Regions from separate parts of the Homo sapiens genome. Here regions 1 and 3 are each linked to region 2. The links are contacts of gene promoters, found by promoter capture Hi-C in blood cells and fetal thymus (Javierre and others, 2016). All regions are on one chromosome and are shown on one strand. The core of a region is centred on a gene start or on the middle of the fragment in contact, and the rest is flanking DNA. Distances in the headings are between cores, read along the strand shown. Region 1 overlaps CENPI (centromere protein I). Region 2 holds the start of XKRX (XK related X-linked). Region 3 overlaps TMEM35A (transmembrane protein 35A).

Region 1 (3,157 bases), core at 404-2,903, 180 kb after region 2:
CCACCACGCCCGGCTAATGTTTTTGTATTTTTAGTAGAGACAGGGTTTCACCATCTTGGGCAGACTGGTCTTGAACTCCTGACCTCGTGATCCACCCGCCTCGGCCTCCCAAAGTGCTGGGATTACAGGTGTGAGCCACTGCGCCCAGCCTGGGATGCTTTTGTCATCACTTTGCTGTTAGTTTTTCCTTTTAGACTTTGTTTATTTATTTTTTTGAGACTGAGTTTTGCACTTGTTGCCCAGGCTGGAGTGCAGTGGTGCAATCTTGGCTCACTGCAACCTCTGCCTCCCAGGTTCAAGCGATTCTCCTGCCTCAGCCTCCTGAGTAGCTGGGATTACAGGCATGCGCCACCACGCCTGACTAGTTTTGTATTTTTAGTGGAGATGGGGTTTCTCCATGTTGGTCGGGTTGGTCTCGAACTCCCGACCTCAGGTGATCCGCCCACCTCGGCCTTCCAAAGTGCTGGGATTACAGGCGTGACCCACTGTGTCCGACCTTCCTTTTAGACTTTGAATTACATTGTTCATTGGAATTAGTTGCAGTTTTTTATGTTTACTGTTCTCTTCATAAGACCAATCTGTTAAGATTATAAAATGGGTTTTTTTGTGTGTGTGTTTGGGCCAAAAGTTTCTGTGTGCATATGCCAAAAATAACCAGTTACCATATATCATCACAGATAAAATGCAAAATACATACTTTTGTCACCAAATACATGAGAACCATTTTTTAGTATTTATCTTAAGAAGCATACGTAGTAATTTAAACAATGTTGCTGGAAGGCATCTTAAAAGATCACTTAGTCTACTTCATTACCTTCATTTTCTTTCTTTCTTTCTTTTTTTTTTTTTGAGATGAGTTTCACTCTTTCACCCAGGCTGGAATGCAATGGCATGATCTCGGCTCACTGCAACCTCTGCCTCCTGGGTTCAAGCGATTCTCCTGCCTCAGCTTTCTGAGTAGTTGGGCTTATCGGCATGTGCCACCACACCCAGCTAATTTTTGTATTTTTAGTAGAGACGGGGTTTCGCCATGTTGGCCAGGCTGGTCTCAAACTTCTGACCTCAGGTGATCCACCCGCCTTGGCCTCCCTAAGTGCTAGGATTACAGGCGTGAGCCAGTGTGCCCAGCTAAGATGCTTTTTCTTTTGTGCAAATATCTTTTCCTGTTCTAAATTCATTGGTGGTGGTTGGGATGGTTGGAAGAGGTTCTTAGAAATAACACCTGGTCAATATTTTATTTACTTGAACCTTTTAAGTTTTTCTCATTTAAATTCAGACTTGGAAGATATTTTAGACTCTAAACACTCTCATTTAAAGGTGAGGAAAAAGAGGCTCAGAGTAGTTAAAGAGACTTGCTTAAAGATGTCCAAACTCCCATTCTAGTGCTTATACTGTACCACATTGCTGCTTTTTTTCCTACTTAAAAAAAAGTTAAGGCTGGGTATAGTGGCTCATGCCTATAATCCCAGCACTTTGAGGGGCCAAGGCAGGATGATTGCTTGAAGCCAGATTTGAGACCAGCCTGGGCAACAAAGCGAAACCTTGTCTACAAAATGTTAAAAAAAAATTAGCTAGGTGCAGTGGCATGTGCCTGTAGTCCCAGCTACTTGGGAGTCTGAGGCAAGAGAATCACTTGAGCCCAGGAGTTTGAGCTATGATGGTGCCACTGTACTCCAGTGTGGGCCACAGAGCAAGACCCTGTCTCTGGGAAAAAAAAAAAAAAAGAAAAATTAAGACAGCTCTCAAAACCAAATGCTTTATATACTAAGTATTTCCTGGCTGTTGCATGTTAGATTCCTTTGTTTATACCCTAGCAGCATACTTGCAGGGGTGTGTGTGTATTTATTTTAAAGTAACAACACATTACTAACCGAATTCAACATATGACTGTCAAGTATTTTATTTCTCTATTTTTATCTGATTAGTTCTCTGTTTCCCTAGAAAGTTAAATTAGACCTAATAAAATTGGCTTTTTTCTTGTAGATGGTTTTAGATTATTTGGTTCTAATATCTTTCCAGGAATCCATGTTTAACTGAACAATGTCTGTCAAGATCAATTCTCCCACTCCCATCTCACCTTAAAACATATATGGAGTAGGGGCCGGGTGCAGTGGCTCACGCCTGTAACCCCAACACTTTGGGAGGCCGAGGTGGGCGGATCACGAGATCAGGAGATCGAGACCATCCTGGCTAACATGGTGAAACCCCGTCTCTCCTAAAAATACAAAAAATTAGCCGGGCGTGGTGTCGGGCGCCTGTAGTCGCAGCTACTTGGGAGGCTGAGGCAGGAGAATGGCGTGAACCCAGGAGGCGGAGCTTGCAGTGAGCCGAGGTCATGCCACTGCACTCAAGCCTGGGTGAAGAGCGAGACTCCATCTCAAAAAAACAAAACAAAAAAACAACATGTATGGAGTATACAGATGTTTTCTATTTTAGAAATTTTTTTTTCGTGACAGAGTCTCGCTGTGTTGTCCAGACTGCAGTGCAGTGGTATGATCATGGTTCACTGCAGCCTTGACCTTCTGGACTCAAGCAATCCTCCCATCTCAGACTCCCAAGTAGATGGGACTACAGGTGCGTGCCACTGCACCCAGCCTCCTTTTGATATCTCAGAAATTAATGATTAGGTTATCTTGATGTCTGCTAGGACTTGAGGTGTCTCAAAATGCATGCCTCAGACTCGGGAAACTTTTATATAGCAAGTTAAAAAATAATCTCTGGCTTTCTATTGTTACTTTTCATTTTTTTTTTCTGTTAAGCTGGAATTTGCTGAGGTCAAATGTGGCCTCCTTAATTCCTTTTCTCCCTTTTATTATAGTTATTTCTGTGATGTCCCCATCCCTACTAGATCTTTACATGCAGCTCTTTTGGTAAGTTGAGATGCATATTTAGAGGCAGGTATGGTAGAAATGTCATCATAATTAGGTACAAAGGGACTTTAGACTCTTTAAAAATTAAGTCACTTGGAAGTAAAAATAGAATTAATATTGAATTCTCCCTTTGAATTTGGTGCACATGTAATGTGTTGGTGGTGAGACTATTTTAAATTTCGAAGAGTTAGTGGATGGGAGTGAGAAAGAAAACAAGAAAAACAAGAAACCACAAGAGTGGAAAGCAGAGATTTTTATTTTTGTGATTCATTACCTATCATCACTGC
Region 2 (2,999 bases), core at 471-2,970:
GAGATGGAGTCTCACTCTATCGCCCAGGCTGGAGTGCAGTGGCACCGATCTTGGCTCACTGCAACCTCTACCTTCCGGGTTCAAGTGATTCTCCTGCCTCAGCCACCAGAGTAGCTGGGATTACAGATATGCGCCACCACACCCAGCTGATTTTTAGTAGAGACAGGGGTTTCACCATGTTGGCCAGCTGGTCTTGAACTCCTGACCTCAGGTGATCCACCCGCCTCAGCCTCCCAAAGTGCTGGGATTACAGGCATGAGCCACCACACCCGGCCTATAAAAATTTTTTTTTAATTAACCAGGCATGGTGACACATTCCTTTGGTCCCAGCTACTTGGAGGCTGAGGTGGGAGGTTCGCTTGATCCCAGGAGATCAAGGCTGCAGTGAGCCATGATCGCACCACTGCACTGTAGCCTGGGAGGCAGAGCAAGACCTTGTCTCAGAAAAAAAAAATTTTTTAAATAAAATTACACACTCTGCAGCTATGGCCTTCATGCACAGGGTGATCACGTCTTGTTGTTCCCATTCTAGTTTACACAGGCCAAATAGCATCGTTCATTGTTTTGGAACACAAGTACATACCACATGTTCATCATGGTGGCATTTAAGATTTCAGGTAAGTTTTCTGAATGGTAGACAGGGAAGCCGAGAGTGGGAGGAAATGAGAGAATTGATTAGAGCCATAGTATCCATCTTGTAAATCTTTCATCTTTCTCTGCCCAAGTCTGGGGTGGGGTTAGGGGGGTAAGGAAAAGATTTAAAAGTTGCTCACCTGATAACAGGTCCCAAGAGGATTAGATGCATAAATAATGATAGCGGTTTATCTTTGGCTAGATCTCTGTGGACAAAAATGAGGGTCAACTGGACCATAATGGATGAAAACATAAAGAAAGAAAAGGTGTATGTCATCCAGTAAGTTTCACTATTCTTTCGATAGATTCTAACCATGTACAAAGCAGATGCAGCCTCCCCACAGTACAAAAAGGTGGAGAAAAGGATGCTAAATGGAAAAGTAAATCGGGGGTTGGCTCCACGGATGACATCTTCCTCCAGAGATGAAACCGGATCCACATTTGGCTCCTCAGGAATTTCATAAACTCTGTCCATTGTCGAGGTTCTTTCTGAATGTTGTGGTCTTGTGTTCATAGCACCCTCCCACCCATCCCCAAGAGAACCCTATGGCCGCTACAGTCCAAGTATAGGTGAGGAGAGCTCTGTCAAGTCCAGTTTGGGAACAGAGATTCACTAGTTAGAGCAAGAAACCGCTCTCTTCTAGACTCAGATTCGACTTGGAGTCTGGGATGGAAAGCCCAGGAGTACCACTTTGAACTTGACTCTTGATTGGCCCCGATTCCAATCGTCAACATACTTGCTGTGAAACTTGAACAAGACAAAAGCAAGCATCCCAGCGCCCCATCCAGAGTCCAACTCCAGGGACGTGAAGAGTCATGAGAACAGCGGCTTCCGTGGCGGCTCCTTTCGCAGCCCCTCAGGCAGGGTGTAGCCGATCTGTCGGGGGCACCGACACTCAGCAGCTCCTCACAAAGAGTCCTGACCAGTGTGTCCTCTCAAGTCAGCGGAGAGCTGAGCCAGGGCAGAAGAGCGGGCGCAGAAGAAGGAGGGCAGAAGAGGGGATTCAGTTCAGTGCCTAGGTATCCTAGCTATTGCTAGGCTGTAGCTATCAGCTGGCCCGCTCACCTGCGCGCTCTCAGGACCTTTGCCGAGTCCAGGGTTCTCAGGATAGCTCCTCGGATTCCCCCAAGCCCCGCCCCCAAGACCGCCTGGCCCGGGAGTGGAGTATTGTCACCACCCTGTCTCCGAATGCAGTGTTGAGGGACAGAAGCAGAGCGCGCTCGCTCTACAGGATGAAGAAAAGGCTGGAGGGGCTGCTTCTCCTCGGAGAAACTTTGCTAGTGAGAGGCACGATGTGCGGGGCGCCAACCTGGCTGGACGGAGGTCGCCAAACTCTTGGACGCCGTCTGCTGCCAGGGTCCTGCCTGGTCTGCGATTCCAGCTGCGAGAGGTCGGCAGCTTCAAAAACTAAGGCACCGGGACGGCGGGGGCGGGCGAGATGGGCGGGACGGCTGCGGCCAAACAAAACCAGCCGGAGAGTTCCCGGGCAGGCGGCCAGCCGAGGGATGCTCGTTGTGGAGTGGCGGGACAAAAAGGGGCTTGGGCCGCTCTTCAGAAGCACTTCTGACCACCACCTCCAGACCCAGGCAGGAGCCACAGCTTTACTCCTCCCTAGGAGCAGCAGGCCCCCACTTCTACCCCGCCCTCCCTAACTAGTTAAGTGACTTGCTTCAACACTCACTCTACCCACGCTGTTAGGCAGGTGTGTCTCCCTCCGCCGCAGGGTGGAACCTCCCTAGGTCCTATTGCCCTCCAGATAATATCATGAAGGGGGAACCTGGGAGGAATAGGGTCAGAGTTTTCGGCGGAGGGAAGATAGAACAGGATAAAGGTCAAGACTCAAGGTCAGCCCACAGACACTGAAAGCTCATATTTTATGCCTTGATTTCTCCACTTGCAAAATGAGGCCAGGATAGGAGCTTTAGAATGAACTTACAGGTCTTTGGTTGAAAGGTTATGAAGAGGTGCCAAATTCTAAACAGACTGGCAAAGAGCCAAGAGAGAGCTGTTAGTAAAAACTGAGAGGGGTGTCTTAAAGAGCTTTGAAAATTACCTGTATTCTTAAGTGTAATCCTCCCCACCTCACTGAGCTTTTGTTTTCATATCTTCATTTGCATAATTCTAAACCTCAGAGAAAAAGAGAACACATCTGCCTCCTGGTAATAATATAGATGAAGGCCAGGCACAGTGGTTCACGCCTGTAATCCCAGCACTTTGGGAGGCTGAGGCAGGCAGATCACTTGAGGTCAGGAGTTCGAAACCAGCCTGGCCAACGTGGTGAAACCCCATCTCTACTAAAAATACAAAAATCAGCTGGTCGTGGTGGTGCGTGACTGTAATCCCAGCTACTCAGGAGGCTGAGGCA
Region 3 (3,027 bases), core at 1-2,500, 150 kb after region 2:
AGCTGATAGTATTCCTCCAGCCACCTGGGTATGTATCTGGATCCTTGAGACAAAGCATTCTTGGCCCAAATAAAGGTCACTAAGCTCTTGTTTCTTCCCCTTCTCTCAAGGGAGAGCTAGATGTTTTGTTTTATTTTGTTTTGTGTGTGGGGTAATCTACAAAATCTGCAAAGTCTGCTTTTTCTCTCCCGCAAACAGTCCGTAATCCCCACCTTGCCTTCTGTGGATGACCAGAGCCAGGCCCTCTGCAGGTTTTCCCCTCTGCAGAGTTGGAATCAATCACGGAAGGTGACTGGCCAAAACATCTCCTCTGCAACCTGGGGGCTGGGCTGCTTTCCCCAGTTGGGCGTGATGAGGACTTGCTCTTATGCTGTGGAGTACTAGGAGATGGCAGGGAATGTTTCCAGCACTTTCGGGTCTGTCCCTTCTTCCCCTGTCACTTTGCCTCTTCTTTTCCCCACCCCAGCTGCTTCTCGTCGCCTTTGCCAGACTTCCAATAATGGGAAGGAGCACATCATTGGGCTCTCAAGGTCAAGAGAGAAAGGAGCTTAGGGGAGGAACAGAAGGGGAAAGAGAAAAGAGGCAAGCCCTTTTAGGGCTGAGGCAGGGAGGAACAGCCTCACACATTGCGAGGAATTCATAGCTCTCCTGAACCCACTGCAGAGCTTTCCAGGGCCCCTTAACGTGAGCTGCAAATGGATGGAGACTGGCAAATTATATTAATAGATGCTCAGAAAATGTTTGCAGGCAGCTCTGGCTTCTGTCTCAGGGTTTAAGCTGGAGCTTTCCATTTCTTCCTCACCGCAGGATCACCCTAGGGTTGGGGAGGGTGACAAGGGCTTAGGTCTAGCCCCAGTGGCAAATCCTTACATGCTTCTCCTTCTCCCTTCCCCTCCTCCCAGCATGTTTGACCAGATGGAATTGAAATCAGGTCAAAATGAGTACCCGAGGCAGCCTGCACTGGGAGAAGAGGGACAGGGTGGGGTAGCAGAAGCCACCAAATGGCTTGAAGAGGTTGGGACAGAGGGACAGGGTGGAGGGGAAATGCCATTATATTTCTGTCTTGGTGGTAGCAGTTTGGTGTTAGATTATGAATAAATGAACATGCTCTTGCTTTACTTTTCATATGTACATATATTTATATATTTGTGTGTGTGCATCATAGGTATGTGTAAGCTTTCCCTAGCCTTAGGGACACACTACCTTTCTTCAGTATACTCCCTGCCCTCCAGACCCTAGTCAGCTGCTTCAGAGGCCCCCCCAAGCTGCACCCTAAGTACAGTGTTAGGCTCTGCAGGCAATCCAACTAAGATGGAGTCACCGGGAAGCTTCCTACCAGCTTAGCAGGAGCTCACAAGGAGGACCAGCCACAAATGGGTTTACAGTATGTTTCTTCCTAGAAATGGAGCTGTCTAGTGCAGCCTAATGAAAGGCAGAAGAAACAAATATGAAGATTTCATATCATACATAGGAACATATTTAAATAGATATAGTGTAACACAGCAATATAGAACCATTGTGTGTGGGTGTGTATGCACACTTCTGCACTTCTGTGCTAGGGGCATCTAGAGGGAATGGAAAGATTGTATCTAACTGAGAAGTAGACGTCACAATAGTTTGAAGAGGATTTTCAGACTGCCCTTTTCCAGGGTCCTCTCCTGCATTGAGCATCGGGCCATAGACTGGAGATTGCTCTCTGGCATAAAGCCTACTGCATAGTGCCTGGGCTTGGCCCAGCTTTATTCTCGTTCCCATAGGAAAGGGAGGGAAATTCAGTTCTAGTACAGAGAAGGTGCTCAATATGTATTTGTGGAGTGGTTGGGTGAATGAATGAGTCATTGTAGCATTGCCTTGGCTTGTTACCACCCTTCAGATTTCTCTGTTTGGCTCTTGATTATGCAGTTCAGGAGCCATTTCTTGCCTCTTAGAGGGACTCTCTAAGAAGCCCCTGTCTCTCAGAGGCAGAGTCTCTCAGAACCCCAACCCTAGATCAGCTGGGATGATTATCTGGGATTTTTTGTTTTCCATTAAGGAGTGGATTCCTCTGCATCGAGGAGGTTAGTCATGTATTGACTGCAGTGGCATTTCTTATAAGATCTCAAAGCGTTGTTGCTGCTGTTGTTGTTTTAAGATTATTTGTTCTTTAGAACATGTCTGTGAGGTAGATTTAGTGTATTCGTTATTTTTATTTTACTGATGGATAAACTAAAGCAGAACAAGTTTAATGACATATCCAAGGCCAGAAAGGTAAGCTGTTGTTGGAGCAGAGATGAGAAACCAAGTCCATGACTCAATACTCCCAATAGAAAGATCATTAATGGTTAAAACTGTTGGTTTTTATGGATGCCAGAACTGACAACCGATTCTTGAGAACACCTGGCACAGTCTTCCTCCTTTTATTGTACCAGTTTAACTGCCCAATGCATATTTTCAATTTTGTTTTACTACAAAATCAATTTTTAAAATTTAGATTTTTGATTTGATTTCTTTTTTCTTTTTCTTTCTTTCTTTTTTTTTTTTTTTTTTTTTTTGCTTTTCTGCCAACTATTTTTTTTCTTGTTTTAAAATCATTTGTGTAATTCTTAGGTGTTATCTTCTCCAGGGAGAATCATTGCTAAAAAACCAAACAAATGACTATGAACTTTTCTCCTGTTTCTACTGGAGAAGCCAGCAAGGGTTAGTGGAAAGAGTGCAGGCTTTATGGTCACACAGGCTTGGGTTCAGGTCCTGCTACTCTTGGTGTCTCAGTTTCTTTATTCTTAAAATGGGGATAAGAATGCCTACCACTTAAGAAACAGACCATCCTAAGGGCGGGGGGTGGGGGGAAGGAGTGCCTACCTTAGAAGGCTGTAAACATTAACTGAGATTATGTATAAAAGTGTCTGGTACAGTGTTTGCTATAGTATGTGTTCAAGAAATGCTTTGGGTGAGGTGATTATGATAAGTAATTCTGTTTTATGGAGTGGTTTCCTAACTGATTTAAATAGCTAGTTTAAGGGATTGAAATCAAGCATATATATATATTTA

What was found. Contacts are between HindIII fragments. The CHiCAGO score rates a contact against its expected background, and 5 or more counts as called.
Region 1: a contact is called between a fragment that was not itself captured here and the fragment with the promoter of XKRX in region 2, in 1 of 17 cell types (total B cells). The highest score is 5.0, in total B cells.
Region 3: a fragment that was not itself captured here is called in contact with the fragment with the promoter of XKRX in region 2 in 1 of 17 cell types (naive B cells); the score reaches 5.6 in naive B cells.

Annotation. Positions count from the first base shown.
Region 1 is chrX:101,103,144-101,106,300 of GRCh38, forward strand. All of the region lies in intron 4 of CENPI (centromere protein I), which reads left to right. Among named protein-coding and RNA genes, the nearest start is that of CENPI, 6.5 kb to the left of the region's middle. The HindIII fragment of the contact is 5,027 bases long and covers 1-3,157 here.
Region 2 is chrX:100,927,197-100,930,195 of GRCh38, forward strand. It overlaps XKRX (XK related X-linked), which reads right to left and starts at 1,721. Exons shown (of 3, transcript NM_212559.3): 1 at 774-1,721. The coding sequence starts at 1,108. RefSeq lists enhancers at 1-1,124, 2,318-2,367. The HindIII fragment of the contact is 22,335 bases long and covers 1-2,999 here.
Region 3 is chrX:101,079,626-101,082,652 of GRCh38, forward strand. All of the region lies in intron 1 of TMEM35A (transmembrane protein 35A), which reads left to right. Among named protein-coding and RNA genes, the nearest start is that of TMEM35A, 2.3 kb to the left of the region's middle. The HindIII fragment of the contact is 152 bases long and covers 1,175-1,326 here.